Linked DNA regions of Homo sapiens: region 2 is linked to region 1. The links are contacts of gene promoters, found by promoter capture Hi-C in human tissues and cell types (Jung and others, 2019). All regions are on one chromosome and are shown on one strand. Each heading gives the region's core, a stretch centred on a gene start or on the middle of the fragment in contact. The rest is flanking DNA. Distances are from core to core; before and after follow the strand shown. Region 1 holds the start of PPM1E (protein phosphatase, Mg2+/Mn2+ dependent 1E). Region 2 overlaps SEPTIN4 (septin 4).

Evidence for each region. Contacts are between HindIII fragments. The study calls those that stand out against the background at their distance.
Region 2: a contact is called between a fragment that was not itself captured here and the fragment with the promoter of PPM1E in region 1, in 1 of the 25 tissues and cell types used here (aorta).

What each region holds. Positions count from the first base shown.
Region 1 is chr17:58,751,233-58,758,766 of GRCh38, reverse strand. PPM1E (protein phosphatase, Mg2+/Mn2+ dependent 1E) reads right to left here and starts at 2,913. Exons shown (of 7, transcript NM_014906.5): 1 at 2,306-2,913. The coding sequence starts at 2,769. LOC105371843 (a long non-coding RNA gene) reads left to right here and starts at 2,657. Exons shown (of 3, transcript XR_007065866.1): 1 at 2,657-2,736. RefSeq lists silencers at 2,757-2,905, 2,905-3,094. The HindIII fragment of the contact is 13,854 bases long and covers 1-5,634 here.
Region 2 is chr17:58,528,583-58,536,116 of GRCh38, reverse strand. The region is part of intron 3 of SEPTIN4 (septin 4); the gene reads left to right. All of the region lies in intron 2 of SEPTIN4-AS1 (SEPTIN4 antisense RNA 1), which reads right to left. Among named protein-coding and RNA genes, the nearest start is that of SEPTIN4, 12 kb to the left of the region's middle. RefSeq lists a silencer at 3,856-4,305 and enhancers at 4,403-4,903, 6,677-7,177. The HindIII fragment of the contact is 6,319 bases long and covers 1,417-7,534 here.

The DNA.
Region 1 (7,534 bases), core at 1,664-4,163:
AAGATACTTTACATGAACAAGCCAGCCATTTTATATCTGAATAAAAATACATTAACAACTTCTGTACAAAACACAATATAAATGATGAAATCTCTGATTTAAGCGGAAATATTTTCCAACTTTAATTTTGCTAGTTTTATTTCAAATCCAAACTTCTGTTCTCAACTAGATGGCCATTTTATCATTTCAGTTTTTTCTAGTTTATACCTATATCAAAATTAATCTTTTTTTTTTTTTTTGAGACGGAGTCTTGCTCTGTCACCCAGGCTGGAGTGCACTGGCACAATCTCAGCTCACTGCAACCTCTGCCTCTCGGGTTCAAGCGATTCTCCTGCCTCAGCCTCCTGAGTATCTGGGATTACAGGCGCGCGACACCACGCCCAGCTAATTTTTGTATTTTTAGTAGAGACGCAGTTTCACCACGTTGGTCAGGCTGGTCTCGAACTCCTGACCTCATGATCTGCCACCCCGGCCTCCCAAAGAGCTGGGATTACGGGAGTGAGCTACCGCTCCTGGCCGCTTCTATATGAAAAAACACACATCTTCTTGCCATCATCTTTAAATAAGTTAAAAAAAAAAAACCTTCTTACATGGCAAATGTTCAGGGTTGTACTAAAATAATGACCTTATTTGGACACTTTCTAAAGTTTGAATTGGTTTAATTCTGCAAACTGCATTTGTAAAGGTAAGAATTAACTGTCAAGATAGAGCCAGTCTGCTGCTAAGATAAATTCCCTTAATAAACATTTCCATTTTATTTTAAGCAGGGAGCTTTATCTTTAAATACTGTAAAAAATTACATCTCAGAAGCCCTTGTCTATGATAGTTCACAAAGACCAGATATACTCTAAAATGTTAATACTGTTTATCTCTGGGTGGTGGTATTACACGCCATTTTATATTTTACGTTTCTCAAAAAGCATCATTACCTTGCTAATTGACGGTAATACTGTAATTGAACAGTATTTTAAAATTAAATTTTAGATAGCTTATATTATGAAATACCAACACAGTCCACTTCTATGGAAGATTTGTTAAATGATTTTCCCCTATTGATAAACTGCTGCTTTAACAGGAGAATGATCTGATCAGGTGTCTATTAGCTTGGATGAAGACAAAACAGGTTTACTTTCCAGGCCCTTCTTTTCTTTAGGCTTTTGAGAAAATCCCAAAAGTGAGTTTGAACTTAATTACAGCGAATCTTGCAGTAGTAAACTTTTTGGGTGGCCAGAGTAACACCTTTCATTACAACTATCAGCTGAATGGCAAAAGACTTCCCAGGTTTACCAATGTTTTCAGAGACTTACTAGTATTCTCCTCTGTCATTATTTCGGAACAATTCCATTGAGAAACGCAATTGTAAACCGTTTCTATTTCAGGCCTATAAAAACCAGAACTGGGATGAAAGGCAAAGCCTTGACCTTTCTATTTTAGACTTTCATCTGTGTAGCTAAGCCATCTGCTTTCTCCCCACCCCATCCCATCTACTTAATGGACTGAAAATACTGCACCTAATTGCAATTTAATCAAAACAGCCTGACTTTTCCACTTTAATGAATTATGGCTCTTTCACCCGAAGGCTTGCTTGCAAAATTTTGCTTACCCTTCCCTCTCAATTCCTTCCCACTTCCCTCAATTATGGAATGTCAAATGTCTAAACTAAGAGACTAGGCTTCCCTGTGTGAAAACATCTAAAAAGCCCTTCACTTTCAACACTGAGCACCTGACGGAAAATCTACTCCATTCTCTCATCTGGATACGGGGCCGGTATAACCATCATTGTTGCAGTTACGCAGGAGGCACCTCGCAGCTCAGTCTAGAAAGGAGTCGCGTCTCTGCCGCCAAACAACAAGGCACTCAGCCCGGGAAAAGACAGACTGGGGTGGGAGGAAACCTCCCGGAGAAAGAAGGGATCTGGGAAGAAGAGGGAGCTCAAGCCTGGGAGGAAGGACCTTTCCAGGCAGGAAAGGGAAAGGTTGCGTGAAGTGGAGCTAGAAGCTGGGGGCCGAGGTGAAAGGGGATGAGGGGCCCGGGCCCGGCGGGAGGGCGCCGGGGCTCAGGAGAGCGGCTTCAAGGCCGGGTAGGAGGCGTGGGGGCCGAGGCGGGCGTGGGGGCCGAGGCGGGCGTGGGCAGCTCTCAGCCGACCGCCCGGGTCCGAGCAGCGGGGGCGCTTTCAGCGGCGGCAGGCGCGGGTGCGGGGGAGAGGAGCAGAAAAGAGAGCAGTTTGAGGGGCCGAGGGAGCCGCGTCCGAGGCCGGCGCGGTGGGGACCGCGGGCCCACCACCAGCCAAGCCCAGCTACTTAACTATTTGTAGAGCTGCTGCAGGCACAGGTCCAGGCTTTCGCCCTCCACCTCCTCGCGGGTGATGCGCTCTGACAGCGGTCGCGGGAGCGGGGGCAAAGGCGGCAGCTGGGGCGGCGGCGGCGGCACGGCCGAGTGCCCCGGGGCTGCCGCCGCCGTCGCCGCGCCCTCCTCCTCCTCCTCACCCTCAACCGCCGCCTCCTCCTCGGGCTCCGGGTCTTGCTCCTGGTCCCCCTCCTCCGTCGCGGCTACCGTGGCCGCCTCCTCCCCGGGTTCCTCTACCGAAGCCTCGGCCGCCTCAGCTTCTACCAGTTCAGGTTCGGGCTCGGGCTCGGACTCGGGTTCGGGTTCGGGTTCGGGTTCGGGTTCCGGCTCCGGCTCGCCGCCGCCGCACGGTCCGCGAAACTCGCCCAGGAATAGCTCCAGGAAGCGCCGGTAAGTTTTCTCCTCAGGGATGCAGCCGGCCATCGCTGCTCATGCCCCAGGGCAGACCGGGAAAGGGGTTGGGGGAAGCCCAGGAAGGGTAAGGGGCTGCTTTTGAGCCTAGGGCTCCGGCAAGGGCGGTTAACGGCCGCACCGGCACGAGCGATCAGCACTAGGTTGCCTGGAGAGGGCTCCCGCAGGCGTGCGCGCCGCCGAGCACCGACGTGCGCGGCCCGGGGGCGGAGCGCGCCGCCCCTCTCGGATCTGGAGGGAAAGTTGGTGGCGGGCGCGCGCAGGGTCCAGCGGCGGCCCACCCTTTATTCCTACGGAGAGCTCAGCCCACGCTGCCTAGAGACTGTCGCCATGGCAACCGGTTCTAATTAAGCATTGCAGGGTCCCTCCCGTCGAGTCCGCGGAGTCTAAAGGACACTCCACTCGCCCGCTCTCCAACTCTGAATGTCTTTATTGGTTGGATACCCTACCCTCACGTGGTTAAGAGTGAGCTAAGACATCTCCAAGTCTAGCTGTTGGTTCCCACTTGGGTTGCTTGGATCCCAATTGGATGTACTTCCATTTCCTTATCTGTTCCTTGCCTTAGCGTATGTTTTGAAAGATACCACACTGTGAACACCTTTTGTTGCAGTCTTTGAATAAGTAGTTTTCAGGCAGAGGGAGCTTCAAATACCTACCAAGTGATAAGTTCCTTTGCATAGGTTCTCTCTCACTTGATTCTGTGAAGAAAGTGGTGTTACTCTCATTTCTTAAAAGGAAACTGAAAATTATGATATTAATGGTAATTTACTTGTTTCAAGGTCTCCAAACTTCCAGCCTTGGCGTTGGAGAACTCAGGTCGTTCAGTCGCCAAAGCTTTCCGAAAGTGCATTTTTCCTTAACTCAACTCTGTCTCCGGAGATTCAATAGTGCAATTGTCTGTATAACACCTTATTTCTATTGGGCTTCATAGTTTACACATTGATTTCACCCTTTTAATTCTTACCACAGTCCCTTGAGGTATAGGACGTTACCGTTATGATTTTTTTTTTTTTGAGACAATCTCGCTCTTGTCACCCAGGCTGGAGTGCAGTGGCGCGATCTCAGCTCACTGCAACCTCCGCCTCTCGGGTTCAAGTGATTCTCCTGCGTCAGCCTCCCAAGTAGCTGGGATTACAGGGGCCTGCCACCACCCCCGGCTAACTTTTGTATTTTTAGTAGAGACGGGGTTTCACCATATTGGCCAGGCTGGTCTCAAACTCCTGACCTCAGGTGATCTGCCTGCCTCAGCCTCCCAAAGTGCTGGGATTACAGGTGTGACCCACCACGCCGGCCAATTATTCCATTTTATAGGTGAGAAAACAGCCTTAAAGACATGGTGACTTTGCTCAAGGTCACATGCAAGGGATGCAACAAGGACTCAATCCAGGTCTTTTCACTGGATTCACCCACTTCAATGGATTTTACCCATTAGTTTTCAGGCAACCAAGACTCCCCTCTTTAGTCTCTGCATAATGCATATTATACTTCATTATATAATATGTATTTTTTCTTTTCTCTTTCTTTTTTTTTTGAGACGGAGTTTTGCTCTTGTTGCCCAGGCTGTAGTGCAATGGCAGGATCTCGGCTCACTGCAACCTCTGCCTCCTGGGTTCAAGCGATTCTCCTGTCTCACCCTCCTGAGTAGCTGGGATTACAGGCATGTGCCACCACGCCCGGCTAATTTTTTTGTCTTTTTAGTAGAGACAGGGTTTCACCATGTTGGTCAGGTTGGTCTCGAACTCCTGATGTCAGATGATCCGCCTACCTTGGCCTCCCAAAGTGCTGGGATTACAGGCGTGAGCCACCGTGCCCGGCCAATAATATGTATTTTTTCTACATTTTGTTTGCTCTTCTTCCCCATCCCCCCAAGTCTCTTTTTTTCTTTCTTGGGTTGGAATTGAAATGACTTTAAGTGATTCTAATTTTCTTACCAAACTACACACAAACCTATTATTTTTAAGCCTTACTGAAGGAGTGGGAGAGAAAGAAGCTGTGTTGTTATACAGCTGTATAGATGATAGCATCATTACTGCAAACTGCCATGTCCATGGCAACATATAATTCAGCAAAAACATAGTGATTCTTTCTCTACTTTGAAAAACATGTTCTCACAAATTATCCACCCCATCCTCTCCATGTATTGTTTCTGGGTTTCAGTTGGATTTAGGGTCTGAAATATCGTTTCCAGTTATTAATGGCAGAAGAGGGAGTCTCTCTGCCAACTGTTTTCATATAATACTGTATTCTAAATCCCTGACCTGATACTGTTATTTTAAGATTAAGTGGGTTGAGCTCACTAATGTACATTATGGCATCATGTAAAACAGAGTTCCTCTCCTAGCTTGAGATTAAATAATACATGATAGAAAGAATATAGTGAATAATTGCCTTGAGTCCTCTATATTTTTTTCCCAAAGGTAAATGGAAAGATCTAATAAATCTGTTTCCAGAAATGCTGAATGTATTTATATGTGTTTTGTTTAAAACATAACCAGCGTAGAGCAACTTCTCTATGAGGTGCCAAGAAAGTCTTTAAACTCCTCATTTGTCTTTGTTTTCAATCCACCTGTTCATTTCCATTTCAGAATGTCTAGAAAAGATTGACAAAACTTTTTAGGCTGCAAACCTAAATGTCCACAATTTTACATTTCAACAATTGTTTAATATCTCAGAATTTGACATAATGACATTTAGTTCAAGAGTACTTAGCTGTCAACTGTAACAATTCATATCTACGCCTTCCTACTTTGTAACATAGTTGCCTCCCTCATTTGTGACATTAATTTATGACTCAGCCCACATTTCAAAGGAAAGTGATATATGTTGGGGAAACAATACTACTAAAAGAAAAAGCCCACACCTCTACATTACTATAAGTGAGAGGCGTGTTTGCTTATATTAATAAAGATATTCCTTCACAAAGATCAATATGGATCCTATTGCATCCATTTGACAAAGTAGCTTTGCCAGAAGGTAGCTGACAGCAAGTGCTGAGATCTCAGAGCAGCTGTGTAGGATGATTTTGCCATTGTCAAGAAGTCTTTAGTAATTATTTTGCATTAGTTTGCTCTCTTTTTCAACTCCTTTCTTATTACACTTTTCTAATCCCCTTGCATACTATCTATTAAAAAATATTGAGGGCTGGGCATGGTGGCTCACGCCTGTAATCCCAGCACTTTGTGAGGCTGTGATAGCTTGAACTCAAGAGTTCAAGACCAGCCTGGGCAACAAAGAAAAACCCTGTCCCTAAAATATATTTTTTAAAAAGGAGGCCAGGCGCGGTGGCTCATGCCTGTAATCCCAGCACTTTGGGAGGCCGAGGCGGGCGGATCACGAGGTCAGGAGATCGAGACCATCCTGGCTAACACGGAGAAACCCCATCTCTACTAAAAATACAAAAAATTAGCCGGGCGTGGTGGCGGGCGCCTGTAGTCCCAGCTACTTGGGAGGCTGAGGCAGGAGAATGGCGTGAACCCGGGAGGCGGAGCTTGCAGTGAGCCAAGATCGCGCCACTGCACTCCAGTCTGGGTGACGGAGCGAGACTCCGTCTCAGAAAAAAAATAAATAAATAAAAAATAAAAAGGAAAAAAAATATTGTTATGAAAAGTTTAACGTATTTTTAAGGTATCAAATTTTTAAAGTTTTTCTCATAAAAATTATTCTCCCTCTAACCCTTTGCTCTTTGGAGGAAATGTACAATGTCCTTTTGTGGACATTCATAGTAATGACATTTATAAGGTTAAAAAGAATTGTTGAGTTTGGCAGTTTCTTACATGACCCAGCAATTCCTCTCCCAGGTATTTTATTCATGAGAAATAAAACATGTCCACCAAACACACATGCACTTGCACACACCCCAAACACAAAAAAACTTGTACATAACTGTTCACATAAGTTTCATTCATAACAGCTCAAACCTGGAAGCAACCCAGATGTCCATCAACAAATGAACAGATAAAGTAGTGTATTCATACAATGGAATACTACTCAGCAATAAAAATAAATGAACTGCTGATAAACACAACATGGATGAATTTCAAAAATATACTGAGCCAAAAAAAAAAATCCAGGCACAAAAGAGTACATAATATATTTCCATTTGTATAAAATTCCCAAACAGGCAAAATTAACCTATATAGTGAGAGAAAGCAGATTCCTGGTGGCCTGGGACTGGGATGGGGTGGGAGATTTGTAGCAAAGGAGTAAGCAGGAACTTTGTGAAGTGATTAAAATGTTCTGTATCTTGACTGATTGGTCATATGGGTGTACTCATTTGCCAAAAATTATTGCCAGGCAGGGTGGCATGTGCTTATAGTCCCAGCTACTCTGGAGGCTGAGGCAAGAGGATCGTTTGAGCCTAGGAGTTCAAGGCTACAGTGTAATATGATTGCACCTGTGAATAGCCACTGCACTCCAGCCTGGGCAACATAGCAGAATCCATCTCAAAAAAAAAATTATCCAAGTCTGCATTTAAAATAAGTATATAAATTGTATATAAATTGTATATAAATTGTATATAAATTACACCTCAATAAAGTTGATTTTTAAAGTTAAAAAGAATTGATTACTGTGTCAGTCCTTGTCCATTTTGCCCTCATACCTATTCTTTCTCCTCCTTTGCCCTGCTCTGTATTGTAGGAGGGCTGACCCTTTCAGGCTGTATTCACTAGGCTACTGTGACAGCTGACTTTCACCTGGGATTTGTCCAGTGGTAGGCACTGACAAGAAATTGGAAGAAGGGAGGAAAGAAGAAAAGCCCTGTTCCCTAGCTCAGTCC
Region 2 (7,534 bases), core at 3,327-5,826, 220 kb after region 1:
CCCTTCTTCTATAGCCACGTCTCCCTGGAAAATACTTCTCAATATTTCAGCAGCACCTTTAGATATCAAGAATTGTGAAGGGAAAGGTTTTAGTGAGAGTAACATCTGTGTCTTTGTATGTGAACCACGGGGCTGGGAGGTGGGTGTGAGCTTGTGAGCAGCCAGGATGAAGGGCAAGTGAAGGGTCAATGAAGCGCAGAGCCTCAAGGCTTGTCTGGGCTCTAAAATCAGAATGGAAAACTAATCAATGAGTCCTTTTAGTCAATCCATATTGATCAGCCATCTCCTGGGGGCAGAGGCCTGGACACCCAGAAAAACATCACATCACATGTTTGCTGATTTGAAGTGAGCAGAGGTTAAAAGAAAAGACATAGTCCCTGCCCTTGAGGAGCTTGTGGTGAATTTGGTAGAGAAAAGTATACAGATGGGTCACTTGAAAGGGTGTGGACATCAAAGGACAAAGCAAAGTCCAATGAAATGAGTCAGCAAAGCTTCCAGCATGGAGGCATATGGAGGGTAAAAGCCAGGGAAAGACAGATTTTGGCTCAGTATAGTGAAGACTTTGGTAACTTGGCAGCCCAAAGGTTGAAGGGCAGTTGTTAGAATCAGTGAATTTTTGGCCATCGGAGGTATGTATTCGAGCAGAGGCTGGGAAGGCAGGGGAGCCTTCAGACATCTGGTGAGTAGTCACATTAGGAGGTTTGTAAGTCCTTTCCAACCCTGAGCTCCTATGGCCCTGCCCTGTTCACGGAGGGTGTTGGAAGGACTGTCTGCCCTATCAGAGTGGCTGGCTTCTAGCACCCTGCCAGCTCTGGAACTGCCCCTCTTTGCAGCCATTCAGCAGGTGCCAGGAAACACAGTGTTCCCCAGCCTTGCCACCCACACCTTATGCCTGCCCCCAGGATCATGGGACACATGGCAGCAGCTGGGGGAAGATTTGGGCTTAATGTATTTTGGTTTATTGCCTTTGTCCACCACAGACCTTGTTGGACAGACTTGCTGAGGTTTCCTTGAAAGACACAACCCAGTGATAGCCTTTGGTCCAAGGACTCTCTGACTGTATCGTCAGTGACTCATCTATCTCACTGGGGAAGGGATGTACAATTAGTTCTTGCGCCACTTTAGGGAAACTTAGCTACTGAAAGGCAGAAGTGGCCATTGCTAGTCATGCAGATCTGAAATCCTGATTTCCTGTGGTAATTGCTCTTTATTATCGGCTTTGAACCTGGGCCCTGGGATGGCCCACATGCAGCCTCCTTGCTTAGGTCCTGTGCCATACAACCTGCACCTATGGGTGGGCAGGAAAGACCTAGTGGAGGGGGCCAGGACATATCATGTTGGCCTGACCTAAGCAACGGAGCCCAAGACAGCAGGCTAGAGCTATGGTGGCTGAGCTGAGTTTCCCAGCTAGACACTCCCCTAGACACTTGGCTCAGATACCATGCCCTAGCAGTGCCTGGGGAGTTGTACTGTAGTCAAGGCCATCAATGCCTGGTGGGATGTTGAATTTTGAGGGAGAACTAGCGCTCCAAGAGTTAAGCCATGCTGAAGCAGAGTTGGCCAGGCCACCTGCTGGCTGGAGATGAGGAAGAGCACTCGGTAAATCCCCAGTGACTGACGCAAGGGCTGCTGTATCTTGGCCCTGCAGGTATTAGACCCTGCCTCCATCACACAGAATGTAAGAGCTAGACTTGGGAGAAGTCCAGTCTTCTCTTTCAGTGGGGGAAACAGAGGCCCAGAGAGGGCAAGGGACTTTCAGGCAGTGAGATAATAGCCAAGTTGGCATGGGACTTGTGCCCAGGCCAAGTTCTCTCAGAGCTCTCCGAATGCTGCAGTAGGTTAGCATGCAGGGCTTGTGCAGGTGGGATGGCTCAAAGTCAGTCTTCAGCTTTTATTTCACCCAGCATGCCTCATGTTAGGCCTGTGGTACAGTGATTAGAAAGAGATTAGACCCCAATATTCTTGGCTTAGAGCTAAGTTCCGTGGTCCCAGGACTTGCTTGGGGCCTCACTTTCCTCAAGGCAAGCTGGTACCAACCTGCTGCCTGGGCAGCAGGTGCCAGAGAAGAGCTGGGATTCCAGCCACAGCTGAGGATGAGCTGGTTGGGCTGCCTTTTGAAATGTGTCTGTGTCCACACTTGGAATTCAGCTGAGGCCACGGGGAGGGGCATGTTATAATAGAGGAAAACAAGGGTTTCTGCTGGGGCCTGTCTTCCCTGATGTAGGCTTTCTCCTTACCCTAGGCCACAGGACTCTGGAAGCACGCAAGAGGTATTCTTAGAGTGCATACATGAGTATTGGAGGCCCAGGGCTTTGAACAGTGGGGCTTTGTATAGTCCAAGCTTGACATTTGGGGCTGATGGTAGCAGCAGCTGCTGCTTCTGCAGACTTCCAACTGCCATTGGTTTCTCTCTTTATGTCTTTGTTTTCCTGAGTACAGCTTCCGATCCCCTGATCTACCCCAGGTCTTTTCCGGGAGCCTCTCTGTACCTTTAGAGGTTCCCTTTCAGGGAACCCAAGCTGCTGCCCCCATCCTACACGTCCTCCCCCTTCACTCAGATCCTGGGCCCTCTCCTGAATCACTGCATGTCCAACCTTTCTCCAGCACCTCCTGCTGCTGCCTTGTTCTCTTATCTTCCTCCAAGGCCTATAGTAGCATACAGCATATCCTCCTTCCCCCACTGCATCCACTTTTAGAAGGCCAGAGCTGTAAGGAAGCTTAGAAATCATCTAGTTTAATCCCCTCATTTTCAGGTATGGAAATTGAGACCCTGACAGGTGAAGTAAGTTGCTCAAGGCCACCCAGCTAGGAAGGTTTCTCCTCAACCGGCTGGCTCATGAACACCCTGCCATCTTCCAGTCCACCAGTGCCAAACAGCCAATAACATCTCCAGTAGCAGCCCCATTGTTTTTCTCAGCCTGATCTTACCTGCTGCCCCAGGCCCTCTTCCCTCCCCTGGCTGAGTTCTGACTGGTCCCAACCAGTGCTACTGGTTCACAGGTCAGACTGAAATACAGCAGGCAGGCCTCTGGCACTTCTACCAACAGAGAGGGCCGTGCCTGTGGGTCTCAGTTTTGTCCAGAGTGTATTCAGGCAGAAGCCAGTCAGCCTGCCATTGAGAGAGGGGTCTTGCGGGTCAGGAAGGGACATGCTTCTGGAAACTTCCACAGGAGCCTGACCAGCTCAGACCCTACTTAGCTCAGGGAATCCCTCACCAACACCCCACTCACCAAGCATCTGCCTTCCCCTAGCTGCTGCTCTGACCTTTCTGAGCCTCTAATGCCTCTAAAGCTTCTGGGGCATCTGTCCCCTCGGCATCTCACCTGCTTGTCAGAGGAAGAGTGGCCCAGCTGGGCCTGGGTCACGCCTGGGTTGGCCTCTCCTGAGGCCCTCCCCACTGTCCTCAGCCACAGGCAAGGCTACACCGCCCTGTTAAAGCCACTCAGCCTCTCCCTTCTATCCTTCCAGCAGATGATCCCTGGATAATTTGTGCAGCAAATCCTCTTTAATCTGTAATCTGGGGTACTGCATGAAGGGAACCTGCCTCTAACCTGCCCCTTCACAGCTCGGGTGGAGGTGGAGAATATCTGACATTCCCCTTTAGGAGGTGTAGTGATCAGTAACTTGGGCATCAGCCGGATTCACTTTGTGAAAACCTTGTTGAATCCCTGCGGTAACTAATGGTTTCTCTCCAACTCATGCAGCAACTCCCCCTCCCTTCCAAAGGCGTCTCCTTCTGGGGATGTCAGGTGGGCCGTTCCTTTTTCTTTGGGAACTGGCTCAAGCCCCCGCGGTGCTTCTGGAGCTGAGTAAAAAAGAGCCAGGTGTCCAGTGCAGCCCGGGGACGAGGAGCTGAGGCTCCCCGCTCTGTCCTGGGTGACTCTGCATACTCTGCGCATCCGGGGGTCGCGGGCTGCGAGGCCGGCCCCCAGCTGGGCACCCCGACCCACTTCGCGCCGGCACCGCTAGCAGCTGAGGTACAGGCCCCGCCCCGGGGCCGACTCGCTCCGCCCCCGCCGCCGGGCCCCTCCCGCAGCGGTCCGCACTCGGGGAGGCGGGAGGGTGACGGCGGTGCTGCGAGGTCGGCGCGCAGCTCCGCCGCGGGTCGCTCGGGCGCTGTCCAGGCGGAGCCGGCCCCGCCCGGGCTGCAGCCATGGTAAGGCAGGCAGGCAGGCGGGCGGGCGCGGGGCAGGGCTGGGGTGCGCAGGGCCGGTCGCTCCCGGGCGGCTGCAAGGGGACCCGCGGCACCGCAGCCGCGGCTGTGCAGGGTGGGAGGCGCCGTCGCCGGCCCCGGGCACAGGCTGGCACTGCTGCCGGGCGGCGGTGCGTCGCTGCTCCCAAGTTTTTCCCTCTGAGCAGCCACGGAGTGGGCGCCAACCCCTGGGTGATGCCTGCGCTCTAGGACGAAGGGGTGGGTCCGTGCTGAGGGAGGTGCCCGCTGGTGGAGACGCGCTTGTTGGGCTGGGGAAGGCGCATCAGTAATAAGCGGAGGTGAGGGTCCCCATCCTCGCCTGGGTCAGCTTTTACCTGAGTAACCCCTCCTCACCCACCTACCCTGGGCACAGGGGCCAGTACCAACTTCATTTGGAAAACGCAGAGGAGGCCCACAAACACTGCCTGCCTCACCAGGAGGGATGGTAAGACGCTTGGCCCCTCCTTCCCTCAGCCTGACAAGGGGCAGTCCCTGGCCCTTTCCCAAAGGGACCCCAGAGAGGGGGAGGCCCAGCCCACCATCCTGCCCGGTGGGATTAGCTATATCCTTCTGCCCCTGGGACAGGAACCATGGGAAAGCTTCCTCCTGCTGCATCTACCCGCTCCCTCCCCACCAGCCAGGTCCCTCTGCAGTGTGTGGGGGTGGGGGCACCCATCCCTGCCACCTGCCTGTAGTGGGAAGAGAAACAGTAACCCCAGCCAGCCTCCCTGGAGGTGCCCAGGTAGGAAGTTTTTGATGCTTGGCTCTGAAGATGTAATCTCTTCTCCTGACATTGTTGCCAGAGCCTGCCACAAATAACGTAAGGGTGTCAGGACCTCTAGGCCACACACCGTCCTCTCCTCTCAGTCTGGAAGCCCCACAGCCTTTGCCCTCTGCATTGGGGGACACAAACTGTTTACAGCAGGGGGGGATCACTGACCAGCCTGTGGGGCGGGATGTTGGCTGTGGGCAGCCTCCAGAAGGGAGCTCCCTGGGCCCCCTGGGATCAGAAGCTTTCAGGTTTGGTAGGGCCAACCTTTTGGGCTCTTGTCTCTCAAGCTGTGTCCAGGCAGAGGCCCAAGCCTTGGCCAGGAAGTCTTGGTGACCCTGTGACCTTCCCCCAACGGGGGTTCCTGAGAGAGGCCTGTCCTTATTCCTTTCCCCCACTTCTCCCCACATGGTGGATGGATGGACTGATTGTTCTAGGGATGGAAGCCTAGGGAAGCACTGATTGTCCCCAGTGCCAAGCCCAGCAGGGGCTAGAGGGGCTTTTTCTGCCACACACTAACTTCAGTTCAGCTGAGGTCTTGGTGCTTTCGGCTTGTCCGAGGCCACACTGTTCTTCTCTAATTAAAGACACACCCCCCTCCACCCCAACCACCATCACCAAAGTCCCCATCCTCAGGCCCCTGCCCTCAAGCCAGCCAAGTTCTTAGGCTGACTGGTTCAGATCAGACTCCTCTATGAGGGTCTCTTTGTCAAAGGAGGTCAGTGTCCTAGCTGCTTTGGGAATCAGTGGGGGAGACCCCCCCAACCCAGCTATGCCAGGGGGTTTAAATTTACATGTGAAAAGAATGACAGGCCAACATTAATGACCATCCTGTGACTTGGGATGCACCTTCTCTTCTCAGGTTCAAAGCAGCTTAAGGTATCTATCATCTGGGAGTGCTTTCTCTCCCCAGCCTCGCTGGGAGGCAAGGAAGGGCCATTCACAACTGAACATTAAGGTCCTCAAATTAAGACACTATCCAGACTCACAAAAGATGTTTCCACCCAACCAGAAACAGTGGACCCCTGACCCCTAGTTGAGTGCACACTTCCAACCAGGCCCCTTAATTTATCTCCCACCTAAATGGCAGCTCTGAAGCTTCTGGGCTGCCAGCCTCCCATTGCCTTGAACCCGTGCTCCTCAGAGACCAAGTGCTAACAGCTCCCCTGTTGACACTATGGAAGCCATGGAGTGATCTAATTGATACAGGTTGCTATAAGTCAGAGGTCAGGTGTCCTAGGGTAAGGGGAGTCCCTGGAGCAAAGTCTTCTCTGTGGCTGATGCTCCCTGCAGGGAAATTTAGGAGCAGATTTCTGAAACAGTGACGTTCCTCACAGGAAAAAAAAAAAAAAACAAATGAACACTTGGGAAGAAGTGTGGGACCATTCCCACAAAAACCTATATGGGGGAGTATAGGACATCTCACCTACTCCAGCACTGCTTAAAGTTAAGGTGAAAGAGAGACTGGGGGATTGAAATCCTTTGGGAATGGGTATCCTAGGTGGCTGTCCTCATGTGCTGATGGGCCAGGTCACTTGGGGATAGCTCATAGTCCTCATACAGGCCACAGTGTCCTTGGGGGTTAACAGGAGAGGTCAAATGGATCAAAAGCCTGGCTGCAAACAGACATTGGGAGGTTGGTGCTGTGCCCACCAGGGTAGGCAGCAGGCAGGCGTCATGGGACAGCCAATCAGAGGAGGAGGGGACTGCAGAGGAACCAAGTGATCCTGCTGCAGCTGAGCTGTCCTTGGAGGGTGGGAGCCAAGGGAAGGGGAGGAGAAGAGGGGTGGGGAAGGACATTCCACAGGCTTTTTTGGCCCCTGCCAGAGACAGAAGGGGGTCAAAGAGAAAGGGAAAGGAGCAAGCCAGGAAGCCAGACAACAACAGCATCAAAACAAGGCTGTTTCTGTGTGTGAGGAACTTTGCCTGGGAGATAAAATTAGACCTAGAGCTTTCTGACAGGGAGTCTGAAGCGTGGGACATGGACCGTTCACTGGGATGGCAAGGGAATTCTGTCCCTGAGGACAGGACTGAAGCTGGGGTAAGGTGCTGCTCTGGGAGATGGGTGGACGTGACCTGTCTTCCCCCTGCCTTGGCTGGGATTGGGGCTCAAAGTCAGAAAATGATTTGGTCACTGGCAGAGCTGGGAGTGGGGATGGACAGGCAGGAGGTGAGGACCCTGGTGTCCTGACTCCTTGTCTAGAGCCCCTGTGGCCCCCTCCATGCGGATGAGCAGCCAGGGCTGGCAGAGATGAGGATGGTGCTGGGTTCCCGGAGGCTCTGCTGGAAGATCATGGGGGCTAGGGATCTTCATTAGGGCCTTCCTTTCTCCCTTCCCTGCCCCTCCACTCAGTGCTCCTGGGAAACCAGGTGAAGCACAGCTTTCTCTCTCCCACCCTTGTCCTGACCCCCAGACCAACGGCTGGGTCATTGTGGATTTGTGCAGAGAGGCAGGATTTCCTGGAATTCCCCAGACTTATTAGCTGCCAGACAACACGTCGTGCTGCCCCCAGTCCCACCCCTTCTCTGTTGCCATGTAATTAATTGTCTAAGCTGGGACACTTTTGAGAGTG